Regions from separate parts of the Homo sapiens genome. Here all the other regions are linked to region 1. The links are contacts of gene promoters, found by promoter capture Hi-C in blood cells and fetal thymus (Javierre and others, 2016). All regions are on one chromosome and are shown on one strand. The core of a region is centred on a gene start or on the middle of the fragment in contact, and the rest is flanking DNA. Distances in the headings are between cores, read along the strand shown.

What was found. The method cuts DNA at HindIII sites, captures the fragments that hold promoters and counts their contacts. A CHiCAGO score of 5 or more calls a contact.
Region 2: a contact is called between a fragment that was not itself captured here and the fragment with the promoter of CNNM4 in region 1, in 14 of 17 cell types (megakaryocytes, M0 macrophages, M2 macrophages and 11 more). The highest score is 12.7, in megakaryocytes.
Region 3: a contact is called between a fragment that was not itself captured here and the fragment with the promoter of CNNM4 in region 1, in 16 of 17 cell types (megakaryocytes, M2 macrophages, M1 macrophages and 13 more). The highest score is 14.1, in megakaryocytes.
Region 4: a contact is called between a fragment that was not itself captured here and the fragment with the promoter of CNNM4 in region 1, in 2 of 17 cell types (total CD8 T cells and non-activated CD4 T cells). The highest score is 7.5, in total CD8 T cells.

What each region holds. Positions count from the first base shown.
Region 1 is chr2:96,757,903-96,762,587 of GRCh38, reverse strand. CNNM4 (cyclin and CBS domain divalent metal cation transport mediator 4) reads right to left here and starts at 1,686. Exons shown (of 7, transcript NM_020184.4): 1 at 187-1,686. The coding sequence starts at 1,588. RefSeq lists enhancers at 461-1,049, 929-1,178, 1,050-1,639, 2,199-2,248 and silencers at 1,142-1,325, 1,449-1,868. The HindIII fragment of the contact is 3,226 bases long and covers 1-2,641 here.
Region 2 is chr2:96,566,634-96,571,034 of GRCh38, reverse strand. No RefSeq gene overlaps it. Among named protein-coding and RNA genes, the nearest start is that of ARID5A, 32 kb to the right of the region's middle. The HindIII fragment of the contact is 3,848 bases long and covers 571-4,401 here.
Region 3 is chr2:96,586,050-96,590,630 of GRCh38, reverse strand. It overlaps a transcript of KANSL3 not described here. Among named protein-coding and RNA genes, the nearest start is that of KANSL3, 50 kb to the left of the region's middle. The HindIII fragment of the contact is 8,293 bases long and covers 1-4,581 here.
Region 4 is chr2:96,997,574-97,002,028 of GRCh38, reverse strand. It overlaps the pseudogene LOC100420569. Among named protein-coding and RNA genes, the nearest start is that of FAM178B, 13 kb to the right of the region's middle. The HindIII fragment of the contact is 4,040 bases long and covers 1,095-4,455 here.

The DNA of each region.
Region 1 (4,685 bases), core at 437-2,936:
CAGACGGCAGACACTTGAGAATGGGTCTACCGCTCCAAAATCGTTCACCTCAGAAGCATAGGAAGCGATAGGCAAAGGGACACAGAGTCACACAAACAGAACACTAAAGCCAGCAGACACAAAACACGCCAGGGGAAAAGAGGCGTCAAGAGGAAATTGAACCAGGGGAACTACATCTGGCCTTACCCTTCTTGAACTCCTCCAGCATGGCATCCAACTTGGTGTCATGGAAGACAAAGTGCACCGGGTGGTTATAGAAGCGAGTGATAGTCTTGAGGGGGGTGCAGTCATCGGGGTCCACAAAGGCCAAGTCTTTGACGTAGAGAATATCTACAATATTGGACTGCTCGTCTTCGAACACCGGGATGCGAGTATAGCCGCTTTCCATTATCTCCGACATGGTGTTGAAGTCCAGGATGGCATCGCTGCGGATCATGAAGCAGTCCTGGAGCTGGGTCATGATATCCTCTACAGTTTTGGTCCGTAGTTCCAGGGCACCCTGGATCATATTGAGCTCCTCTTTCACGAGGTCATTATAGGGCTCCGTCACCTTCAACATCTCCATCAGCTTCTCCCGGTTGTAAACAGTGCGAATCTCCTGGCCCAGAAAAAAGTCCAGGAGCTTGCTAATGGGAAAACTGAGGGGGAAGGTGAGTAGCATAAAGAATTTGGTGAGAAGGATGGTGTTGGCACCCACAGCCAGCCCATGTCGGGAGCACAGGGCCTGAGGTAGGATCTCCCCAAAGATGACAATGCCAATGGTGGAGGAGGCCACCGCCATGAGGCCGGACCCGATGAGGTTGTCTAGAAGGATTGTGAGGGAGGTGTTGACCAGCACGTTCCCTAGGAGCAACGAGCAGAGAAGGTAGTTGCCCTTGCGCCGGATGGGCTCAATCTTGCGGGCATAGCGCCTCTCCTTCTCGGTGCCACAGTTCTGCACGATGCGCAGCTCCATGGGGTCCAGGGCCATAAGCCCGAGGTTGAGGCCAGAAAATATGCCCGACAGCACCAGCAGCACCGTAATTAGGAGAATGTGCAGCCAGAGAGGCAGGAACCTCCCAGGCTCCTCCACCATGAAGAGCAGTGAGTCCTTGTCCGTCCACTTCAGCCAGGGCCCGTCGGGCTGGGCCCGGGTGCACAGTGCATACAGCTTCATGCTCTCGCTCCTCCGGAGGAACTTGGTGAGCACCACCAGCACGCCGGACGTGTTCCCGCGGCTCACGTTGACCAGCTGCTGGACGACCAGGTCCTTGGTGAGCTCGAGGCAGCTGGTGGACTTGTGGAGGGTCTCGGCATCGTCCACCTCGGTGAAGGAGATCAGGTTGCTGGAGATGTTGCCCAGGCTGTAGCCGTACAGCCTCAGGTTCACGGTGCTGCCCTCGGACACGAAGATGATGCCATCCGGGTTCGTCCCACACGACTTGTTGCAGCTCGCCAGCCTCATGCCCACGATCGTGCCCTGCTGGGGGCTGCCCTGGCCCCGGGCCCCCAGCGCCCACAGCAGCACCAGCAGCACCGGCGCCGCCAGGAGGAGGCGCCCGCGGGCCGGTCCGCCGACCGGGCGCCCGCCCCCGCCCACCGGCGCCATGTTGCTCTGGCTCTGCCGCCGCCGCCGCTCCCCGCGCCACGCCGCGCGGCCCCGGTCCGCACCGCAGCTCCGGCCGCTCCGCTGCCGCCGAGCCAACTGCCCGGGCCGCGAGCCTGACGTCAGGTCAGCGCCCCGCCCGCCCCGCCCCGCCTGCCCACGCCCCTCATTTGCATTGGAGGCCCCGCCCCCGGGGCTCGCTGCTTGAGCGCCCGCCCTTAAGGGGGTACAGTCGCTTAAGGTGGAGCAGCGCCGCCGCGCGAGAGCCGCCAGCGGGTACCCGCCCAGTGCTCCGCCTCCGCGCCCTTCCCCGCCTTTCTCTGCCAGTGGGGCCAGCTCTCCTTCTCCGGGACCTGGTCTCCTAGCTACGCCGTTCCTGTTCCTCGGCCTCGCACGGCCGCACGTGGGAGGCTCCTCTCCCGTCCCTCACCTGCAGCTAGGGGTGGCCCGCTCTGCAGGCAGGGCGAGAAAAGTGCTTTTCCTGATGTAGAAAAAGAAAAAGGAAACCTGAGGGCTTAGGCTGGCATTGCAGCCTGCCCCTTGGAGACTTTTCTGGCCTCCTCACTGCTGAGATTTTTGCCGACCTTGTCCTAAGGCCAGAAGTAGGTTACCCCAGCCCCAGCCCCAGCCCGACGATGCTTCCATCAACCAGTGGCTGCCTGATGTGGAAGGCAAATCTGGGGAACTAAGGTTATAGAAGGGGCAGGCTCTGGCCTAGACTTCTCTCCTGTCTCTTCCATTTAGGCATAGATATTTATTGAACACCTACTTTGTACCAGGCACTTGTTCTAGGCTCTGACAATAGAGCAGTGAACAAGCCAAAGTCGCTGCCCATTGGGGTTTACAGTCTAGAACAGAAAACAGGAGATAAACAAGTAAACACATATATTCATTAAATCCCCCCAACAACCCTCAGAGTTAGTAGAATTATTTCCATTTAGAGATGCAGAAATTGAGCCGAGACAAAAATCCTGGTGCCTCCATACTGTCATCTCCCAGCCCATTTCTCCATCTGTAAATGGGGGTAAGAATGACAGAGCATTACTTCGCTAAGCTTGCGGGATTGTGGACCTAGACATTGAACATGACAGGACAGCTCTTTAGAATATTCTTTGGCTAGGTAGTAGTTGTTGCTACCTGCCTTCCAGGACCAAACTCCTAACCCCAAATTGTGGTGATTGATCAGCTGGGCAGCTGCTTGTGGACATGAGCAGGCAGGCGCGGCAGTGGGCCTATCCCTGAAATGACTGCTTCCTGAATGGCCCTAGCCCTGTGTCAGTAGGGTGTATAAGGAAGACCACAGCTGCCCGCCCTGTGAGGGGGAAGAAGACAGACAGATAAACATCCTTACAATAATTGCACAGGTGCACAGAGAAGATCAGGTACTGGGTTGACCACCAGGTCTCACAGCAAATCTTTTGCCAGTACTGAAGACACAGAACCCACTTTACTCCCTTCCCGCACTGACACTTGTATTTATTTTCATTTTGGTGTAATGTTTGCTAATAAAAGCAGCAATCAGTACCAAACGGAAGGAGCCTAAACAGAAAGGATCACACAATGTTGTGGGAGGAGGTGTGGTAGCAGAGAGGCCCTGACTCAAGAAAGCCCTGTTAGCTGGGATTGAGGGTTCTGTAAACTAGGCCAGCCTGGAGAAGTATGTTGCTAGTAGGGGCCCCACTCATAGCGGATACTTTGCAGTGAGTGCCCAGCAGGTCAGTTTTTTCGAGGAATAGGAGCCTTGGAATGGGCACTGGCTGAGACAGAACAAAAGCAGAACCTTGACTGCCTGTTCCTTCCCTGTCTCCACCAACCAGGAAGAGCTACCTGAATTGCCTCAAAGCAAACCCAGCTCTCCTCATCTCCTAGTGAGCTGTAACACCAGCGCCCTGCTCCACCCCTACCCCCACCTCCCATACTTAGAAACTTTCCCATTCTATTATCAATCAATTGGCTATTTTTTCCCTTTTTCTTATGATTTTATTTTTTTCTCTATTATGTCTTTTTTCTGCTTAAGTACGAATTGGCTCCTTTTATTTTACCCTTTTCAGGCTGTCTACACTCAGAAGCTCTGTTCATATGCACTGAGTCTAATGACAGAAGCCAATAAAGAAAAGGAAAAATAAGTTTTTTAGATATTTAGGTTAAATGTGGGATTACCAGCTTGGGCAACATAGCAAAAACTCATTTCCACTAAAAATTTAAAAAATAAAAAGTTAGCTTGGCATGATGGTGCACACCTGTAGTCCCAGGACCTTGGGAGGCCAAGGCGGGCAGATCACCTGAGGTCAGGAGTTCAAGACCAGCCTGGCCAAGATGATGAAACCCCGTCTCTACTAAAAATACACAGTTAGCCAGGTGAGGTGATGCACGCCTGTAGTCCCAGCTACCCGGGAGGCTGAGGCAGGAGAATCACTTGAACCCGGGAGGCGGAGGTTGCAGTGAGCCGAGATCACGCCACTCACTCCAGCCTGGGTGACAGAGCGAGACTCCATCTCAAAAAATAAATAAATAAATAAATAAATAAATAAATAAATAAATAAAAATAAAAAGATAAACACAGTATCACTTGTTGGAGAAGGCACACGGGGCCCAGGCCGAAGTCCAGGTTCATTTGCTGCCAGCTTGCAACCCTGGTTAGGGAGTCTGCCTTTTCTGCATCTGCCATGTCGAAATACCTCTCCCACCGTAGGGACAGCATGGAGATAGCAGTCTATTAACATGCTGAGTCAGGAAGCTTGGATGCATGTGTGGCTCTCTGTTAGCCAGGCGGTGAGAATGGCAGAAAGCAAACGTGCAAGCGAGGAGCCTCTCTCCTTTGGGGGCAGATAAAGGCATGATCAAACCTGTTTTCTCTGCCTCAAGGTGGCAAGTCCTTACTTACCTAGTTGCTTCTATTTGCAAGTAGAAATTGCCCAGAGGAGTCCTGATCCTGGACCCCTGAGCATGTAACAGCACCCTAGTCATGAGATCCTTGGAGCTCACTGCTTCTTTCCAGGTGTAAGCCCTATGGCAACATGGCTACACCTCCCATAATTGAGCCCACTCCCTTCTGGTTCTGTGCAGGGAAACAGTCTTAAAGGCTTAGTGCCCCTTCACT
Region 2 (4,401 bases), core at 1,245-3,744, 190 kb after region 1:
CCCAGCACTCTGGGAGGCTGAGGCAAGCGGATCACTTTAGGTCAGGAGTTCGAGACCAGCCTGGCCAACATGGTGAAACCTCATGTCTACTAAAAATACAATACAAAAAAAAAAAAAAATTAGCTGGGCGTGGTGGCATGTGCCTGTAGTCCCAGCTACTCAGGAGGCTGAGGCACGAGAATCGTTTGAACCCAGGAGCTAGAGGTTGCAGTGAGCCAAGATCATGCCACTGCACTCCAGCCTGGGCAACAGAGTGAGACTGTCTCAAAAAAACAAACAAAGAAACAAACAAAAAACTATTATTCTTGATCAACACTTGATCACAAAATAAGGCTGGTCTCATTAGACTTGTCTGATTACTCACATAGGTAGAGTAAGAATGGTAATTTGCCACACAGGTCTTCTTAAGTTTACTTTGTTGAAAGTTTTCATCAGGACTTTCAGACTGAGCTTTTAAAATTCTCTTGAGGCTAGGAAGCCAAGCTAAGAACTTGCCATCATACTTTAAATGCAGTACCTATAAATTTGGACAAATTCCTCTTTTCTTGAGTCTCCAGAATATCCTAAGCTTCCTGGTACTGTCAGGAAGTGACCTTTCTTACTCACCTGTAAGGCTGAAACCATGTACTCCAGTGCCAGTTTTCCCAAGAGCATTTTGTAAACATTGGCTCCAAAAAGTCAACCTTAGTTCTTTAAAGTATCTGGTCATAGCTGATTAAATGAGCATCATTCTCAAACATGACATTCGGGGAGGCACCAGAGTAAAAGAAAAAAACTATCTGTAGATGACAAAAGATTTAAAGGCCTTTGTTGCATAACCAATGTTTCTAATTCTGTCCCGTAAACAAGGAGGACAGATTCTTATTGAACCTGTGCAAATAATTATATTGCAATGAAATTAAGAATACTCCAAATTCTGGAAGGATCAGGCAGTAAGAAAAATACACCATTTGCAAATTGATATGGTTTGGCTCTGTGTCCCCACCTAAATTTCATGTCAAATTGTAATTCCCACATGTCAGCAGAGGGGCCTGATGGGATATGATTGGATCATGAGGGCAGATTTCCCCCTTGCTGTTCTCATGATAGTGAGTGAGTTCTCACAAGGTGTGTTTGTTTGAGAATGTGTGGCACTTCCCCCATCACTCTCTCTCTCTCCTGCCGCCATGGTAAGACATGCTTGCTTCCTCTTGGCCTTCCACCATGATTGTAAGTTTCCTGAGGCCTCCTAGCCATGCGTCCTGTACAGTCTGCCAAACTATGAGTCAATTAAACCTCTTTTCTTCATAAATTACCCAGTCTCAGATAGTTCTTTATAGCAGTGTAAGAATGGACCAATACACAAATGTTCATTTTAAAGAACATAGTCTACTAAATTGTTATGAGTTATAGATAGCTTAAGATAAAGGAGCTCTTTATGTATTCAGAAAATAGAACATTAAAACAACAATAGTCCAAGCAAAACCCACAACCATCCCCCATCAGTTCATTCAGTCCTATGTCATTAATTCCTGTTCTGCTCAATCTTAGGTTAGTAGTCTCATGAATCCATCTGTTTCTCAACTAGAGTTTTAGAAATCCTGACTCAGTTCAATTATGTGGTCTCAAAGTTGCTTAAGTAGTGCCATCAGAAGTCTATACCCAAAGGTACCTGGCATAGTCCTTTTCCACGGAGCTCTGAGACAGTCCTTCTTTATTGAAGTGATTTCAAGTCCTTTCAGAGAAGCATCAGAGTAAAACAGAACACTATTGGTAGATAACAGAAGACTTAAAATGACTATGGTTAACATACTGCTTATAATTATCAAAAGTGAAAGGCATGATGAGAGTTCATTACAAAGATAATGCAACTCAAGAATATTTGCAGTTTTTGGGGCATGCAAAACAAGATGAAGTCAGTCAAAATATTTTTAGGCAAAATATCTATGAATATAATGATTGACCCTATTTTCAAAGAAAAGTAGATGTTATATCTAATTTATAAAAATTAGTGAACCTTTTCAGGGAAAAAAATCTTAAGATATAAAACATAACAAACATGGACATAATATATCATGAATATACCAAGTATATAACAAATGACAGTGTTAAGTTTTGTGAGAGCCCTGTGTTTCTGGAAAACGGCAAAGGCTGAGAAATCCCCGCACTCTGCCCTCCAGGAAACAGCTCACTGTGAAGACCACCCTTCCCTATATGACTTGGATAAGACTCCCAAATGCTCCTTGTTTACCCTTGACCAAGTCAGACAGACTCTCCAAATTCCCATTCTTTGCCTCATAAATGATTAGCTGAACTCTTTTGTCCCCACTGGACAAAATGGGAACAAAATCAAAATCTTTGGTTCATATTCTCTGCTTCCCCCAAGGCTCCTAAGTATTGGCCCACCCTCAACCTGAGCCAGCAGGCAGTCCTGCTACTTCTGGAAACAGACTGGGCTAGGTGCAGTGGCTCACACCTGTGATCCCCTTAGTTTGGGAAGCCGAGCCTGGAGGATTTCTTGAGCCCAGGAATTCAAGACCAGCCTGGGCAACAAAGTGAGACTCCATCTCTACAAAAAATTTAAAAATTAGCCAGATGTAGTAGTGCATGCCTGTAGACCCAACTAGTCAGGAGGCTGAGGTAGGAGAATCACTTGAGCCCAGGAGGTTGAGGCTGCAGTGAGCCATATTCATGCCACTGCACTCCAGCCTTGCTGACAGAGTGAGACTCACACACAAAAAAAAAAAAAAAAAAAAAAGCGGGGGCGGAGTGGGAGGAAAATAGACTGGCTTTGGGATAAGACATTCTTGGGTCTGCTATCCTGTAATGCCACCCTCCCATTCCACTTTCCCATACCTGGATCTTTCTAGCCTTATTTACTCCTCTCTACAAAATAAAAGCACTTTGCCCACCCTCTCAGATACTTGCAGATCTTATGGTCAGAGCAACCTCCCCCGGCAATAGTTCCTTACCACACCCCCTTGCAATAACTGCTCCAATAAAGTCTCCTTACGTAGTCTGGGTTTGTTTTTATTTGACTTGAGGAAAGAGATTCAGCAAATCTGGATTAGGTCCTAGACACCTGTATATTAATAAAACTCCATAGTTAAGTGATGTGAATCCTCAATTAAAAACCCTGGCCCAGAAGATAGTAGATTCACATTAGAGAATTAAAGCTGCAACCAAGTTAACATTTTAAAAACTAACAAATTATAACTGATAGCACTATACTGTTTTTGTCTAATATTAGGCAAAGGAGCACCAGGAATCATAAACATATCATGGACAGCAAAGACATTGATGATTGTCTAGAAATTTCCCATAAAGCATACAATTTCTGAAAATTTTATATTAATAATAGCCCAGGCCAGCACGCGGTGGCTCACGCCTGTAATCCTAGCATTTTGGGAGGCCAAGGTCAGAAGTTTGAGACCAGCCTGATCAACATGGTGAAACCCCATCTCTACTAAAAATACAAAAATTAGCCAAGCATGGTGGCGCATGCCTGTAATTCCAGCTACTCAGGAGGCTGAGGCAGGACAATCGCTTGAACCCAGGAAGTGGAGCTTGCAGTGAGACGAGATCGCACCACTGCACTCCAGCCTGGGCGACAGAGTGAGACTCCGACTCAAAAAAAAAAAAAAAAAAAAAGGCCAGGTGCAGTGGCTCACACCTGTAATCCCAGCACTTTGGGAAGCCGAGGTGGGTGGATTACAAGGTCAGGTGTTCAAGACCAGTCTGGCCAATATGGTGAAATCCTGTCTCTACAAAAAATACAAATATTAGCCAGGCATGGTGCTGCATGCCTGTAGTCCCAGCTACTCGGGAGGTTGAGGCAGGAGAATTGCTTGAACCTGGGAGGCATAGGTTGCAGTGAGGTGAGATCGCACCACTGCACTCTAGCCTGGGCCACAGAGCGAGACTCTGTCTTAAAAAAAAAAAAAAAAAGCATCTCTTCTGATTTGACAAAGTGATCCAGGGCAAGCGAGCCCCCTCCCACCCCCACCAAATTGGGGCTTAGCCCAGGAGGGTTGTTGGCTTTGTCTAGGAAAGAATTCAAGGGTGAGCCGGTGGGGTGAGACAGCAACTTTTATAGAGGCGGCAGTGCACAGCGGCAGCAGAAGTGCTGCACCTTAGAAAGCAGGGCTACCCCATAGGCAGTGTGCACAGAGTAGCAGCTTAGAGGCAGTTCTACAGTCGTATTTATACCCACTTTTAATTATATGCAAATTAAGGGGTGGGTTATGCAGACATTTCTAGAAAAGAGTGGTAACTTCTGGGTCGTTGGGTGGTTGCCACAGAAAGGGGCAGTAACCTTTGGGTGTGCCAGTCTTATGGAAAGCTGCTTCTGCGCTGGCCCTGTTTTAGCTAGTCTTCAATCTCGTTCTTGTCCAAGTCTCCACCCCCAGAGTCTAATCCTGC
Region 3 (4,581 bases), core at 78-2,577, 170 kb after region 1:
ACTAGGTCATATGTTAAGTTTTTAATTTTTTAGGAAACTGCCAGCCCAGCCTGATGGCTCACACCTGTAATCCCAGCACTTTGGGAGGCCAAGATGGTAGGATTGCTTGAGCTCAGGAGTTTGAAACCCCCTAGGCAACATAGATAGACCCTGCCTCTACAAAAATACAAATTAGCCGGGTGTCATGCCGCGCACCTGTAGTCCCGGCTACTTGGGAAGCTGAAATGGAAGGATTGCTTGAGCCTGGGAGGTCAAGGCTGCAGTGAGCTGTGATCGTGCCATGGTACTCAATCTGAGCAACAGAGTGAGACCTTGTTTCTAAAGAAAAAAAAAAAGAAACTGCCACTGTTTTTCAGAGTAGTTGTACTATTTTACATTCCTATCAGCAGTGTATGCGAGATTCATTTTCTCGGCATTCCTGCCAGCATTCTATATTGTCTCTTTTATTATTTATTTATTTTTATTTTATTTTTGGGAGACTGAGTCTCATTCTGTCGCCCAGGCTGGAGTGCAATGCGCAATCTTGGCTCACTGCAACCTCTGCCTCCCAGGTTCAAGCAATTCTGCCTCAGCCTCCCTAGTAGCTGGGATTACAGGCATCCACCACCACACCTGTCTAATTTTTTTTTTTTTTTTGTATTTTTAGTAGAGATGGGGTTTCACCACGTCGGCCAGGCTGGTCTTGAACTCCTGACCTCAGGTAATCCACCCGCCTCAGCCTCCCAAAGTGCTGGGATTACAGGTGTGAGCCACTGCGCCTGGCCTCTTTTATTTTTTATTTTAGCCATTCTAATAGGTGTGTAGTGGTATCTCATTGTGGTCTTTTAAATTTGTTGAGGTTTATGGCCCAGGGGTGATCTATCTTGGTATGTATTCTGTGGGTGCTTAAATGTGTTCTGCTGTAGGGTGGAGTGTTCCATAAATGTCGATAAAATTGTTGGCTGATGGTGTTGTCAGGTTCTTGTATATCCTTGCTGATTTTCTGTCAAGTTGTTCTGTCAACTGTAAAGAGTGGTGTTGAAATTTCCAACTATAATTGTGGAATTGTCTATGTCTCCTTTCAGTTCTGTCAGTTTTTATTACACATATTTTTCAGTTCTGTTATTTGGTACATACACTTTTAGGATTTCTGTGTCTTTTTGGTGGATTGACCCTTTTATCATTATGTAATGTCCCTCTGTCCCTGTTGGTTTTCTTTGCCATGAAGTCTACTTTATTTGACACTATACCCATTCTACTTGTTTTTGATTTATGTTTGCATGACATATTTTTTATTCTTTTGTTTTCACCCTACCTATGTCATTATATTTCAAGTGAATTTCTTGTAGACTGCATGTAGCATATGATTTTTCTTCTATACCAATATCATTCTTTTAATTAGAGTTTTTAGACTGTTTTCTTACATGTAATTATAGGTAATGTTAGGCCTTAAGTTGGCCATTTTAGTTTTTGTTTTCCATTTTTTGTTTTCATTTTCCTGCCTGTAAGTGGGTTACTTGAACACTTTTTTTAGAATACAATTTTGGTTTATTCATAGCGGTTTGAGTTGTATCTCCTTGTATAGTTTTTTAGTGGTTGCTCCAAAATGTTACTTTATATATATGTAACTTACCACAGTCTCCTGGTATCCACATTACCCTCTTCCACCTCTAGTATAACTATCTATGTACTTTGAGAACCACGTTAGACAGTGTTGTAAGTTTTGCTTCAAATATAATTTAGAAAACTTAAGAAAAGGGCTGGGTGCGGTGGCTTAAGCCTGTAATCCCAGCACTTTGCAAGGCCAAGGCAGGCAGATCACTTGAGGTCAGGAGTTCAAGACTAGCTTGGCCAACATGGTGAAACCCTGTCTCTACTCAAAAAAATACAAAAATTAGCTGGGTGTGGTGGTGGGCGCCTGTAATCCCAGCTACTCCGGAGGCTGAGGCACGAGAATTGCTTGAACCCAGGAGGCGGAGGTTGCAGTGAGCCGAGATTGCACCACTGTACTTCAGCCTGGGTGACAGAGCGAGACTCCGTCTCCAAAAAAAAAAGAAAAGAAAAGGGAAGTCTATTGTAGTTACCCATATTTTTGCTCTTTCCATTGTTCTTTCTTCCTAATGTTCCAAGATTCCTTCTTTTACCATTTCCTTCTTATTTAGAGAACTCTCTTTAGCCAGTCTTCTTTGTTGTCAGCGGCAACACATTCTTTTAATTTTCCTTTGTCTGAGAATGTCTGAATTTTACCTTTCATTAATGAAGGATAGTTTTGCTAGATAAATTCTGTGTTGACCACAGAATTCTGTTCTTGAATTTGGAAAATTCTGCTTTCTTGTTTTCTGATGAGATATTCAGTGTCATTCAAATTGTTTCCCGTTTGTAGATAAGGTGTTGTTTCTTTGTGCTTTCAATATTTTTTCTTTTTCTTTAATTTTCAGGTTTGAATATGATGCATCTTGACATGGATTTTGGTTTTTTTTTTCTGTTTAGGATTTGCTCAGCTTCTTGAACCTGTATAGGCTTAAGCCTTTTTACCATATTTGGGGAATTTTCAGCCACTATTTTTTCAGTGCTTCCTTCTTTTTCCTCTGCATCATGCCCCCAGTGGCATGACTATTAGATCTTAGGTATAGCCCTACAGCACCCTCAGGCTCTGTTCTTTTGTTTTTTTTCTGTTGGTTTGTTCTCTTTTCAGATTGTGTCTGTTGTTCTGTCTTCAAGTTCACGGATTCTTTCTTGTGTCCCTTCTGTTCTGCTGTTGAGCCTATTCATTGATTTTTTTCATTTAGGTTATTCTAGTTTTCATTTCTCAAATTTGTTTTGTTCTTTATGTCTTCTGTATCCTTCCTGAGGATTTCTGTTTTCATTTGTCTTAGTGTGATATTGCTCATTGCAGCATTTTAAATGATGGCTGCTTGAAAATCCTTGTTAGACAGTTCTAATATCTGTGTCTTCTCAATTTTGGCATCTGTTGGTTGTCTTTTCTTATTTGAGTTGAGAATTTCTTGGTTCTTGATATATTCTTTGAGTGGTTTTGGATGAAACTGGGACATTTTGAGTGTTATCTATGAAACTCGATCTTCTTTAAATCTTCTGTTTTAGCAGGCCTCATCTGACACTGCTCTCATAGGGGAACTTTGTTACTGCCAGATGGGGTGGAAGTCTAGGATCCCCACTTGGCTTTCATTGACATTGGGGTGGAGTCTTTACTGCTGGGTGGAGGTGGGAGTTTTGGCTCCCCACCTGGCCTCTGCTGCTGCCAGCCAGCCTAGCTGGAAGGGCAGGAGTACCTTGTTGGTCTTTCTCACATGTTCTTGTTTCTAGGCAGAGGTAAATGCCCTGACTCTTCACTAGGTCTTTGCTGATGCCACCTAAGCTGGGACAGGGTTGTGTCTTATTGCCAGGTGGGTAGATTTCCAGGCTAACCACATGGTCTCTAATGGCACAAGAAGAGTGGGGGTTGGGAGCTTTATTACCACTCATTGGGATTGAAGTTTTAGTTTCCCACTTGGCCTACTTCAACACCACCCCCCAAAAACTAAACATTTGAGGAGACAGCCACCTCACAAAAGGCAACAGTGGACAACATATACTTTCTGAAGCAGAATTATTGGAAGAGATAAGTTAATATGTGACTAATATATGTAAGGAGTTATGGTTGGTCAGATACTGATATGAAACAACAGGAAACTGTTATTTAAAAACCCAGAAATACTAGTTATAGAAAATATAATAGCTAAAACAAGGTAATTATGGGATAAAAAGTAGAAGGGATATGGCTAAAGAATTAATTAACTGGAAGATTAGAATTAGGAATTCTCTCAGAAGGCATCAAAAGAGCCAAGAAGTATAGAGGACAGAAGTAGAAGCAGTAGAACACAATTAAGAGTCATGAAGGGAAAGCTGGCTACTCGGGAAGATTGCTTAAGGCCAGGCGTTGAAGCCTGTAGTGTGCGATGATCAGGCCTGTGGATAGCGACTGCAGTCCAGCCTGGGCAACAAGACCCTGTCTCTCAATTTTCTTTTTCAATTTTTAAAAGCCATGAAAGGAAAATGAAATAAAAAACAAGGAAGTAATTTTTTACATAATGGAGGATAAATTTCTAAGAATTAAGAGAAAATTGAAAGGCCTCAGTTTGAAAGCATTCACATGGAGTCTCAACTGGGAGCAATAAGGAAAACCCACATCTAGACACATTATAATTAAAGACAGAAAATCTTTCTTATTTTTAAATTTGATTCCAGTAGTTGTTGGGGAAGAGGTGGTTTTTGGTTACATGGGTAAGTTCTTTAGTGGTGATTTCTGAGATTTTGGTGCACCTGGCATCTGAGCAGTGTACACTGCACCAAATGTGTAGTATTTTAATCACCCCCACCCTTACCCCGAAGTCCTCAAAGTCAATTATATCTTTTTTTTTTTTTTTTTTGAGACTGAGTCTCACTCTGTCATCCAGGCTAGAGTGCAGTGGCACGATTTTGGCTTACTGCAAGCTCCGCCTCCCGGGTTCAAGTGATTCTCATGCCTCAGCCTCCCGAGTAGCTGGGATTACAGGTGCCCGCCACCACGCCCAGCTAATTTTTATATTCTTGGTAGATATGGTT
Region 4 (4,455 bases), core at 1,865-4,364, 240 kb before region 1:
TTTAAGAAGGTTCCCCTCCAAAAAATGACATCAGAGAGCATGAGCTCAAATCATCTCCCTACATGGTTTAAAAAAAAAAAGGGCAGGCCGGGTGCGGTGGCTTACGCCTGTAATCCCAGCACTTTGGGAGGCCGAGGTGGGCGGATCACGAGGTCAGGAGATCGAGACCATCCTGACTAACACGGTGAAACCCCATCTCTACTAAAAATACAAAAAATGAGCTGGGCATGGTGGCGGCCGCCTGTAGTCCCATCTACTCGGGAGCCTGAAGCAGGAGAATGGCATGAACCTGGGAGGCAGAGCTTGCAGTGAGCCGAGACTGCACGACTGCACTCCAGCCTGGGCGTCAGAGCAAGACTCCGTCTCAAAAAAAAAAAAAAAAAAAGACTCCTCTCAAACTTGGCTTGTGGTCACTGGGGACCTACGAAGGTTCAACACGTGTATCAAAAGTGGTATTTCTGTTTGGGGTTCATCTACTCTGGCCACAGCATGATGTTTGTTCTCAACAACTACAATGTGTTCAGATTTTGAAAACCCAAATGTCATAAAAACTTTAAAAAAGATGCAATTCCTGCAATGTCAAGTGGACTAAAACATTCCTGGTAAAGAGCTTACAGTGGATCATTCATTTGAGTTTGAAAAACTTAGAAATGAACCTATCAAACACCAGCAAACCCTGTGGAATAAAACTACTGATGCAATGAAGAGAGCTGAAGAGATTAAACAGAAATGCCAAGATGGCCAAACATGGTGGCTCACGCCTGTAATCCCAACACTCTGGGAGGCCAAGGTGGGTGGATCACCTGAGGTCAGGAGCTCGACACTAGCCTGGCCAACATGGTGAAACCCTGTCTCTACTAAAAATACAAAAATTAGCTGGGTGTGGTGGCATACACCTGTAATGCTAGCTACTCAAGAGGCTGAGGCAGGAGAATCGCTTGAACCCAGGAGGCGGAGGTTGTGGGGAGCTGAGATCACACCACTGCACACCAGCCTGGGTGCCACAGAGCGAGACTCTGTCTCAGAAAAAAAAAAAAAAGGGCAGCCATAAAAAAGAATGAGTTCATGTCCTTTGCAGGGACATGGATGAAGCTTGAAGCTATCGTTCTCTGCAAACTAACACAGGAACAGAAAACTAAACACCACATGTTCTCACTCATAAGTGGGAGTTGAACAATGAGAACACATGGACACAGGGAGGGAACATCATCACACACTGGGGCCTGTCAGGGGGTGGAGGGCAAGGGGAGGGAGAGCCTTATGACAAATACCTAATGCATGAGGGACTTAAAACCTAGATGACGGGTTGATGGGTGCAGCAAACCTCCATGGCACATGCATACCTATGTAACAAACCTTCACATTCTGCACATGTATCCCAGAACTTAAAATAATAAAAAAAAGAAACGCCAAGCTAAATGTATAATGAACAGATTGAAGAAAAATAAAGAGCTACAGAAAATCCAGGACATCAAAGAAGTCAAGCAAAACATTTATCTTATTCAAGCTCCTCTTGCAGGCAAAGGAAAGCAGTTGGAAGAGAAAGTGGTACAGCAATTACAATAGGCTGTGGACATGGAAAATATCTCTTAAAAGTCTGTAGGCTGGGCATGGCGGCTCATGCCTATAATCTCAGCATTTTGGGAAGCTGAGGTGGGAGGATTGATTGAGGCTAGTAGTTTGAGACCCCCCTTCTCTACAAAACATTTTTTTAATTAGCTAGATGTGGTGGTGTACCCCTGTAGACCCAGCTACTTGGGGTGGGGGTGTGGGGATGTCAAGAGTGGGGAGGCTGAAGTGGGAGGGTTCCTTGAGCCCAGGAGGTCTAGGTTGCAGTGAACTGTGATTATGCCACTGCACTGCAGCCTGGGCAACAAAGTAAGACCCTGCCTCAAAAAAAAAAAAAAAAAGGCTCGTAATCATTTCTTTTTTTTTTTCTTTTTTTTTCTTTTTCTTTTTTTGAGACAGAGTCTCGCCCTGTTGCCCAGTCTGGAGGGCAGTGACACGATCTCAGCTTACTGCAACATCTGCCTCCCGGTTTCAAGTCATTCTCCTGCCTCAGCCTCCGGAGTAGCTGGGATTACAGGCACCTGCCACCATGCCCAGCTAATTTTTGTATTTTTAGTAGAGACGGGGTTTCACCATGTTGGCCAGGCTGGCCTCGAACTCCTGACCTCAGGTGATCCACCTGCCTTGGCCTCCCAAAGTGCTGGGATTACAGGTGTGAGCCACCGCACCCAGCTTTCATTGTAACTATTTCTATTTATTTATTTATTTATTTATTGAGACAAAGTTTCGCTCTTATTGCCCAGGCTGGAGTGCAATGGGGTGATATCATCTCACTGCAACCTCCACCTCCTGGGTTCAAGCGATTCTCCTGCCTCAGCCTCCCCAGTAGCTGGAAGTGCAGGCATGCGCCCCCACGCCCAGCTAATTTTTTGTATTTTTAGTAGAGATGGGGTTTCTTCATGGTGGTCAGGCTGGTCTCAAACTCCCGAAGTCAGGTGATCCACCCGCCTCAGCCTCCCAAAGTGCTAGGATTACAGGGATGAGCCATTGCGTCTGGCCCATTGGAACTTTTCCTTTCTTTCCTTTCTTTCCTCTTTTTCCTCTCTTTCTCTCTTTCTTTCTTTCTGACGGAGTCTCCCTCTGTCTCCCAGGCTGGAGTGCGGTGGCGCCATCGGCTCACTGCAAGCTCCGCCTCCCGAGTTCACGCCGTTCTCCTGCCTCAGCCTCCTGAGTAGCTGGCACTATAGGCGCCCGCCACCACGCCCGGCTAATTTTTGTGTGTGTGTGTATTTTTTAGTAGAGACGGGGTTTCACCGTGTTAGCCAGGATGGTCTCAATCTCCTGACCTCGTGATCCACCCGCCTCGGCCTCCCAAAGTGCTGGGATTACAGGCGTGAGCCACCGTGCCCGGCCAGAGTTTCGCTCTTGTTGCCAGGCTGGAGTGCAATGGCGCGATCTCGGCTCACTGCAACCTCCACTTCCCAGGTTCAAGTGATTCTCCTGCCTCAGCCTCCCGAGTAGCTGGGATTACAAGCAGGCGCCACCACGCCCAGCTAATTTTTGTATTTTTAGTTACTAAAAATACAAAGGATGAAGAGCAGAAGGGAAATCCCCAAATTCAAGCAAGCACAGAAATCCATGATTGGAGACGGGGTTTCGCCATGTTGGCCAGGATGGTCTCAATCTCTTGACCTCGTGATCCGCCCGCCTCTGCCTCCCAAAGTGCTGGGATTACAGGCGTGAGCCACCGTGCCCAGCCCATTGTAACCATTTCTATATGTACGTTTAAAAATGTCCTTTGGAGACTTAGAACTTCCAAATTATTTATTTTTTTACATAAGGGCACTTAAATGAAAGGTGATTAAAAAGACATCTCTCCGGCCGGGTGCGGTGGCTCGGGCCTGTAATCCCAGCACTTTGGGAGACCGAGGTGGGCAGATCACGAGGTCAGGAGATCCAGACCATCCTGGCTAACACAGTGAAACCAGGTCTCTACTAGAAATACAAAAAAATTAGCCAGGCGTGGTGGTGGGCGCCTGTAGTCACAGCTGCTCAGGAGGCTGAGGTAGGAGAATGGCGTGAACCCAGGAGGCGGAGCTTGCAGTGAGCCGAGATCTCCCCACTGCACTCCAGCCTGGGCGACAGAGGGAGACTCTGTCTCAAAAAAAAAGTCTCTCCTACATTGCTGTCTGCAAAACATCAGATGTTACGGATGTTAGACTGCATCTCAATGGTAAATCTTCACTGACAGGTTTACTTACATCAATCATGAAAATTCTGTTTGTAGGCTGGGTACGGTGGCTCATGCCTGTAATCCCAACACTTTGGGAGGCCGAGGCAGGCTGATCATGAGGTCAGGAATTTGAGAACAGCCTGGCCAACATGGCAAAACCGCATCACTACTAAAATCACAAACATTAGCTGGGCATGGTGGTGAGCACTTGTAATCCCAGCTACTAGGGAAGCTGAGTCAGGAGAATTCCTTGAACCTGGGAGGTGGAGGTTGCAGTGAGTGGAGATGGCGCCACTGCACTCCAGCCTGGTCAACAGAGTGAGACTGTCTCAAAAAAAAAAAAAGAGAGAGAAAATTCTGTCAATACAGAAGTGAATTGTGGACGTAAAATGGTCATGCCATTTGGTTAATGGCACTAGGCAGCATTCATACAACAACTAATGACAAAAATTCACAGCTAGTGATATATAAAATAAAGTATTTTTGCAGTAAACAAACAAAATTGGCATGGCTTCCAGCTGAGCTCACCTTCACCCCACTCACCTTGTAAATGGGGTCATCCTCTGAGTTAACACAGTGGAATCCCCCTCCCGTCTCTCTCTCATGTCTGTCGGTTCTTCCCCAGCAATAGTCCCTGGAGTGGCCCCTATTAAGGGCCTTGACATCCACTCCCACACTCAATTTTACAACCACCTCCTTTGGGACTCCCTGTT